Linked DNA regions of Homo sapiens: region 1 is linked to region 2. Evidence: promoter capture Hi-C in human tissues and cell types (Jung and others, 2019). All regions are on one chromosome and are shown on one strand. The core of a region is centred on a gene start or on the middle of the fragment in contact, and the rest is flanking DNA. Distances in the headings are between cores, read along the strand shown. Region 1 overlaps RUFY1 (RUN and FYVE domain containing 1). Region 2 holds the start of ZNF879 (zinc finger protein 879).

Evidence for each region. The method cuts DNA at HindIII sites, captures the fragments that hold promoters and counts their contacts. A contact is called where the count stands out against the background at its distance.
Region 1: a fragment that was not itself captured here is called in contact with the fragment with the promoter of ZNF879 in region 2 in 1 of the 25 tissues and cell types used here (dorsolateral prefrontal cortex).

What each region holds. Positions count from the first base shown.
Region 1 is chr5:179,561,434-179,565,540 of GRCh38, reverse strand. It overlaps RUFY1 (RUN and FYVE domain containing 1), which reads right to left. Exons shown (of 18, transcript NM_025158.5): 3 at 2,877-2,994. All of the region lies in intron 4 of LOC128966623 (a long non-coding RNA gene), which reads right to left. Among named protein-coding and RNA genes, the nearest start is that of RUFY1, 13 kb to the right of the region's middle. The HindIII fragment of the contact is 4,656 bases long and covers 152-4,107 here.
Region 2 is chr5:179,021,709-179,026,114 of GRCh38, reverse strand. ZNF879 (zinc finger protein 879) reads right to left here and starts at 2,311. Exons shown (of 5, transcript NM_001136116.3): 1 at 2,211-2,311; 2 at 1,078-1,145. The coding sequence starts at 1,110. RefSeq lists an enhancer at 2,182-2,683. The HindIII fragment of the contact is 17,237 bases long and covers 1-4,406 here.

The DNA of each region.
Region 1 (4,107 bases), core at 1,230-3,729, 540 kb before region 2:
CTTTAATGCTGAATTTTTTTTGAATGGGCAATATCTTCACTTGGTTTAAAACCTAGAAAGTAGGCCAGGTGTGGTGGCTCACACCTGTAATCCCAGCACTTTGGGAGGCCAAGTGGGGTGGATCACCTGAGGTCAAGAGTTTGAGACTAGCCTGGCCAACACGTTAAACTCCCATCTCAACTAAAAATGCAAAAAATAGCTGGGTGTGGTGGCTCATGCCTATAATCCCAGCTACTCAGGAAGCTGAGGCATGAGAATGGCTTGAACCCGGGAGGCAGAGGCTGCAGTGAGTCGAGATTGTGCCACTGCACTCCAGCCTGGGCTGGGCGATAGAGTGAGACTCTGTCTCAAAAAAAAAAAAAAAAAAAAAAAAAAAGAAAACCTAGAAAGTATTAAAAGGCATATACTTGTCTCCTTGTCCTCCACCTTCCCATCCCCCTCCCCTATACACTAATATAGTGTCCTCTGTTTAAGTTCATTTCCGAAACATGTTTCTACACATGAAAACAGGTACCAAATATAAATTATTTTTCTCTCTCTTTTTACAAAAAAATTTAACATATTTTACATGCAGTTCTCAACCTGATTATTTCGCTGAGTATCTGTCATCTTGAAAATCTTTCCATATCAGTACACAGAGGACTTTACTTTTTTTATAGCTTTAGTGTGTCATTATTGGACAGCACCATAATTTATTTAGCTGGGTTAAAAAAAACTAGGGTGGTTCTAATCTCCTGTTACCAATAACGACTGCAATAGATCATTCTGTACATGTGTCATTTTCATGTGTTACATGTGTAGGATAAAATGTATGTAAGGGGAATTGCTGGGTCAAAGTGCAGATGATTTTTTTTTCTTTTTTTTTTTGAGATGGAGTCTCACTTCACTCTGTCATCCAGGCAGGAGTGGTGGCGTGATCTCTGCTCACTGCAACCTCCACCTCCTGGGTTCAGGCAATTCTCCTGCCTCAGCCTATAGTCCCAGCTATTTGGGAGGCTGAGGTGGGAAAGATCACTTGAGCCTGGGAGGTGGAGCTTACAGTGAGCTGAGAGACTGCACCACCACTGCACTCCAGCCTAGGCGACAGAGAGACTGTCTTAAAAAAAAAAAAAAAAAAAAACAGCCAGGCACAGTGGTTCACACCTATAATCCCAGCACTTTGGGAGGCTGAGGCAGATGGATCACCTGAGGTCAGGAGTTGGAGACCAGCCTGGCCAATGTGGTGAAACCCCATCTCTACTAAAGATACAAAAATTACCTGGGCCTGGTGGCAGGCACCTGTAATCCCAGCTACTTGGGAGGCAGAGGCAGGAGAATCGCTGGAACCCAGGGGGTGGAGGTAGCAGTGAGCCGAGATCACGCCACTGCATTCCAGCCTGGGCAACAAGAGCGAAACTCTATCTCAAAAAAAAAAAAAAAAAGAAAACATCAGGACGCCGTCTGTGTAGGTGCTTTACTCTTGAGGGAGTGAGTGAGCTGGACAGGAAGGGTATGAGAAATTGTACCATATAAAGAACAACTGAAGACGCAGGGCAGTAGACTTGAGAGGCTCATGAAAAAGGTCATTAAGGCCGGGTGTGGTGGCTCACGCCTGTAATCCCAGCACTTTGGAAGACCGAGGCAGGTGGATTACCTGTGGTCAGGAGTTTGAGACTAGCCTGGCCAACATGGCAACACCCTGTCTCTACAAAAAATACAAAAATTAACTGGGTGTGGTGGCACGTGCCTGTAATCCCAGCTACTCAGGAGGCTGAGGCATGAGAATCGCTTGAACCTAGGAAGCGGAGGTTGCAGAGAGCTGAGATTGTGCCACTGCACTCCAGCCTGGGCAAGAGTGAGACTCCTTCTCAAAAAAAAAAAGGTCATGAAATAAACATTTGAAAGCTTGGCAGGTGCAAAAGGCTTTAAATATAAGCGATGTAGGCCGGGCAGGCAGAATTTGCATAGAGGGCTTAAATCTAATCTTGAGAAGAATGCACAGGGCTTGGCAGCAATGGAGTTTCATGGGATTTGGAGGGCTTCAAGGCATAACAGACCTGTGTCCTCTTCCTGCTCCATCACTCACCTGCCAAGGCACCTCGGGCAAGTTACTCAACCACTCTAAGTCTCAGTTCCCACACTTGTAGATGAGGACACTAACAGCTATCCTAGAGGATGGCTGTGGAGGATTAAATGAGATAAATGAGAAGGAATGTTCTCAGCACAATGCCTGTCATTGAGCAGGTCCTGAGGGCAGTGGCTATTATTATTATTATCTGAAAATGGAATAGGCAGGCTCCCTAGGAGAAGGGTCAAATAAACGCTCAACAGTCCAGTCCCGTCTGGGAAACTCTGCAGAGGGTTCTTTTGCATTGGCTCAAGGATCCCTAAGACCCTTTCTAGATGCCAAATTCCATGAAGATGACTTATTTGTGTTCTGGACTGTTTTTGATTTTGAGCCTAAGCATAGCGATCCCAAGGACAAATCCAGACATGGCAAATAATTCGTTAGTCCCACCCTAACAAATTACAAATGTCCTTGGGCCTGGAATCTACAATCTGGCCCAAAATGTATTATTCAGAAAACTGCCCACCTGTGTCTGAAGCAGTGATTCCAGGAGTGTACCAGTAGTTCCTTTTCCTCCTGTGAGTGCCCTTTGGTTGACAACACCTTTTCAACCTATTTGGCCTGTGTGGCAAGCAGGAATCACTGTCCCCATTTTAAAGAAAAGGAAACTGAGGCTCAGAGAGAGTCAAGTCTTGCTAGAGATCATGTGGATAATGAGCAGCAGAGCTCTTTCCAATTAGAAAGGGCTTCATCAGCAAGGAATTGAGAAATGAGTAAATATGAGGGAGTTTTTAAAATCATCAAATTGGCAGAACTACTTCTCACTCACTTTAATTCTGGAAGATTTCTGACACTAGTCGCTATATCTGATGCTTCTGGACAAAGTTTCTCCACCAGCTCCAAAGGACCAAAGAATGATTTATTTTGGCCAATAAAACTCTTCTTAACTAAAAGGAAAAACAAAAGTGTTATTCATAAGAACAGGTTGCAAAATTTCTTCAGGGACCCACAGCCTCTCCCCACAAAAGCCAAGTGGAAGTGAAAGCTGCTAAACTTCACTGCTTAATCCTTTTTTAAAAATCTTTTTTGAGATGGAGTCTTACTCTACTGCCCAGGCTAGAGTGCAGTGTGCAATCTCAGCTCACTACAACCTCTGCCTCCCGGGTTCAAGCAATTCTCTGCCTCAGCCTCCTGAGTAGCTGGGGTTACAGGTGCCCACAACGCCGGGCTAATTTTGTATTTTTAGTAGAGACGGGGTTTCACCATGTTGGCCAGGCTGGTCTTGAACTCCTGACCTTGTGATCTGCCCGCCTCGGCCTCCCAAAGTGCTGGGATAACAGGCGTGAGCCACAGCGCCCGGCCTGCTTAATCCTTCTTGATTTACTCTTGGGGACTGGGAGAGGCCATGTAATAAATTAGTCTCTCTTTCTCTGGCAACAGAGTTTCTCTGATATGCTTACTGTGCTCTTTCTGGAAGTATGTATTGCCCATAGAATAAAACAGGCGCCTCAGCCGGGCACAGTGGCTCACACCTGTAATCCCAGCACTTTGGGAGGCCGAGACGGGTGGATCACGAGGTCAGGAGATCGAGACCATCCTGGCTAACACGGTGAAACTCCGTCTCTACTAAAAATAAAAAAAAAATTAGCCGAGAGTGGTGGTGGGCGTCTGTAGTCCCAGCTACTCGGGAGGCTGAGGCAGGAGAATGGCGTGAACCTGGGAGGAGGAGCTTGCAGTGAGCCGAGATTGCACCACTGCACTCCAGCCTGGGGGACAGAGCGAGACTCTTCAAAAAAAAAAAAAAAAAAAAAAAAAGAAAGAAAAAAACAGTTGCCTTATAGGCTCATCTACTATGAAATTCTTCCCCCTTTTTTTCCTTGATGGCAAAATCAAGGATTTATTTTTTTTTGTTTTTTTCAGATCCTCATCATCTGTACTGCTGTAATTGGTCTTCCTGCTCCTAATACTGTCACCTCCCCACCATTACAATCTGTTCTCTACATAGCTAGAAATTCTTTTAAGAACTGAAGTTAGGACACATTTCTCCCTTTAGGATCTTC
Region 2 (4,406 bases), core at 1,062-3,561:
TTTCTTTCTTTGTTTTTTTTTTTTTTTTTTTGAGATGGAGTCTTGCTCTGTCACCAGGCTGGAGTGCAATGGCACAATCTCAGCTCACTGCAACCTCCACCTTCCGGGTTCAAGTGATTCTCCTGCCTCAGCCTCCGGACTAACTGGGATTACAGGAGCGCACCACCAGACCCACCACACCTGGCTTTTTTTTTTTTTGAGACGGAGTCTCGCTGTGTCACGCAGGCTGGAGTGCAGTGGCATGATCTCCGCTCGCTTCAACCCCTGCCTCCCGGGTTCAAGTGATTCTCCTGCCTCAGCCTCCAGAGCAGTTGGGACTATAGGCATGCACCACCATCCCTAGCTAACTTCTGTATTTTTAGTAGAGACCGGGTTTCACCATGTTGGTCAGGCTGGTCTTGAACTTCTGACCTCAAGTGATCTGCCCACCTTGGCCTCCCAAGGTCCTGGGAATACAGGGCCTCTCTTTTTCAAATTCCCCGTGTTAGGAAGGAATTATTTAACTCCTCCGTGTCTTTGTCCTCCACAGGGCAAAAACACCTGGATCTTTCACAAAGCTCTGGTAGTGGCAGTGGCCTGGCATTGGAGCCCCATTAAATTCTTTGTCAAAAAGCATGAGACTGGGGGCCGGGCGCGGTGGCTCACGCCCATAGTCCCAACACTTTAGGAGGCTGAGGCGGGCAGATTGCTTGAGGTCAGGAGTTCAAGACCAGCCTTGCCAACTTGTTGAAGCCTGGTCTCTACTAAAAATACAAAAATTAGCTGGGTGTGGTGGCACACATGCCTGTAGTCCCAGCTACCAGGGAGGTTGAGGCTGCAGTGAGCCATGTCCGTGCCACTGCACTCCAGCCTGGGTAACAGAGTGAGACCCTGTCTCAAAAAAGGGAAAGAAAAAAAAAAAAAAGCATGAGACAGGCTCTGAGGCAAGGGAAACACCTTCCTTCCAGAGTTTCTCAGCTACCAAGCCCTCTGGTCCTTCCCTGAGCTTCACTGGGTAGAGAAGCTCAACAACAGATGAAGAAGTTTACCACGTCTAGACCCTGAAGGCAGTTCAAGCAAAAAGAAGCCTTCACTCACCTGTACATGGGCTGGCAGCAACCTCCTTGCCATTTCTCCCTCCCTGCTGCCTCTCTTGGAGAAGGCACCTGGAATGGAGAAAAAAGCTGTGAGGTCTTTTCATCCAGCCTGCATGCCCACCCTCATTAGGCCAGACCAGGTTAGAAGCCATAAGCTGAGCACCTGCAGAGAAGGAGCCTGGAACTGCCCAGGCCAGAGGGGCCCTAAGTCCGGCCACTTAAACCAGTGTGGGAAGCAGGTTCAGAGTCACCGGGCCTGCTACCTTTCTGCCAGTGCTTTACGATAAAGACGAAAGGAGCGAAGGGATGAAGACCATCTGCCGTGCCTTAACAGGGTCAAGGGCAGAATCAGGCAAGGCTCATTCAGATAAAGTAATAGGAAATGACACAATATTCCACACATCTGCACTTGGATGTTGTTCAATACGAAAAACAGCAGTTGAAGAACTGATGCTCTTTTTTAGGAACAGCCAACCAAAAATTAGTCCTCTTTTCTTCCTCTTGTAAGATTTACTTCCTTTATCAAAAACAGTTATCAAAGCTGCTTAAAGGTAGCGTTACCCATTCTCCCTGGCCCCAAAAAAACAAGGGCGCAAGAAAACAGCATCACTAGCTAGAAATTGATTTAAAATTTAGAGAAATGGGAAGAAACGTAGCAAGTGGACATGGTTACGGTAAATAAAAAAAGAAATAGTTAAATCACTCTAGGACTGGCTGTAGGAAAACACTGCCAAACGTGCAAGACTGCCAAAAACGAGTAAATCTAAAGTTTAAACTCCGGGAAACGGAGTAGGGGGAGGCTTAAACCCACAAACACTAAGAGCGAAAAACCGCCCGGAGGGCTCCGGACCCTGAACCGAGGCGGCATTTTGCAGTTTCTGTTCTGGAGCCGTTTCCCCCGGAGTCCGGCCCAGGCTGCGGCCCAGGAGTCCAGCGGCGTCGAAGCGCCCTCCCGGCCTCCGCCAGGCCCTTCCCAGGCCACGCCCCCTCCGGGGCCGGGTTCACCTGCCGAGGCCGCCCCGGCTCGGACGCCCGGAGCCGGGGACTCGGCAGACACGCGCAGAGGCCAGCCCTCGTCCTGGTCCCGCCGCGGCAGCCGCACGCCCCGGGCCCGCCCTCACCGGCAGCCTGTACCTGGGCCCGCCTCGGCGGGGGGCGCGCAGCTCCACACCGCACAAGAGGCGAGCGGAACACCTAATTCAGAGACGTTTCCCGTCGCTGCCGGGCGCAACTGCGCCTGCGCGCCGGAGAGCCGACGGGTTTCCCTGGCTGAACCGCAGCGTTTGTCCCTCCGGACTTCATTTCCCAGACGTCGCTGCGGCACCACCACTTACGGTGTCCGAGAGAGAACCACAGCGCCGAGAGCGGAGAACGCGGTCGGGCTGTGGAGTTCGAGAAGGCTGAAGCCGAGTCCCTCAGCTTGGGCTCCAACTACTCTCCCTCCGCTAAACCACCCATTGTATTCGTAATTAGAATGACAAAAATAGTAAGACGGAAAAGTGAGTATGAATTTTTAAATCTGGAAGACTAGCCGCTGCTGATTATTCGCAGGTGGTGACAGAACTATTACAGTCCATTCTGCGATTTTAATTAAAAATGAATTATGTCTAAATTTTATAATCTCGGCCGGGCGCGGTGGCTTATGCCTGTAATCGCAGCACTTTGGGAGGCCGAGGTGGGCGGATCACAAGGTCAGGAGACCGAGACCATCTTGGCCAACATGGTGCAACCCTGTCTCTACGAAAACACGAAAAATTAGTCGGGCGTGGTGGCACATGCCTGTAATCCCAGCTATTCGGGAGGCTGAGGCAGGAGAATCGCTTGAACCTGGGAGGCGAAGGTTGCGGTGAGCTCAGATCGCGCCATTGCACTCCAGCCTGGGTGACAGAGCAAGACTCTGTCTCAAATAAATAAATAAATAAATAAATAAATTTTTGTAATCTTTACATATTTACTGGCACTCAGAGTAAAACAAAAGCATAAGCCTAGTATTTCCCTCTTCATGGCACTCACTTCTTTTGAAGTGACTTCTTTAAAACGTAAAATAAAGCCCAACTCCCAGCGCTATCATCACAACTGCATCCTCGGTGACCGGCACTGTACACGCCAAATACTATGTGCTCAGAAAGTGTTGATTTTTAAAATATCAAACATTAGCGTTTACAGAGACAAACCTAAACACAAAGGGTACTTGAAGATAGAAAATGCAGAGAGGGACTAAGAGATATCAGGTAGATAATATGAAAAAGAAATCTTGGATCACGATGTTACAACAATACAAAGATTATTGCAATGTAAAAATAATTAAATCGAACAAAATGGATGTTTTATATTGTTAAAAGATAATAATGCACATCACTAATCATTAGGGGAATGCAGATCAAAGCAGATCAAACATCCACTGCGATTTCACACTCATTAGGTTGGCTATTATAAAATTTGGAAAAAAAAGAAAACCAGAAAACAATCCTTGTGCCTTAATGGTGGGAATGTAAAATGGTAGCGCTGCGCTGGAAAACGGTATGGCAGTTCCTCAAAAAAAAATTAAATGTAGAATTAACACATGGGCAATTCCATTTCTGGACCATATGTTATTTCTATATTTAATTATTATTTTAAAATAATAATAATAAAGATATGACAGTTATAGACCATTATTGACAAAACAACATAGCATTGAGATTTACAAAGTAAAAGGTGCCAGACTGAGTACCCATGATTACCTCCCTTTTTCTCTTCATATTCTTCAAAGTAACCCCAAACACATATAATTTTCAAAGGAGCAAATCTAATGCAACTCTAGAAAAATACCATCAGAACACCAGAAATTGAGGAAACATTTGGAAGACATGCAGGAGACAAGTGCTCTGATACCCAAAATCTAATAAAAAGATTCAGAAGAAAGCAGAGAAAATGGGGAGGGGGAATAATAACAGATTGATTACATACAGAAATAGTGATAGAGATATAGCAGAAAACACATTCAAGCTGAGGAAGCCCTGAGTCTTCAGAGTAAATAAAATGTAGGGAGTTTGGCATAATGAATGAGCTAGGGTAGGGATGGCCCATAAAAAATACATCCTCGATGAAATATCACAACTCTGAGGATAAATAGGAACCCCTAAAAGTGGCCAGAAAAGACGGAATAAAAGGTTGGCATGTGTTATTTGCTACAAGTCACAGAAGATGGAACTGCTCAAGTTGGCTGAAATGAATAAGGAATAGCAAGAAATCACTGGGGCAGACTCCGGCTAGAGAAGAATCGGTGGTTCTATGATGTCAGCAAAAACCAGGTTTTGGCCGGGGGTGGTGGCTCAAGCCTGTAATCCC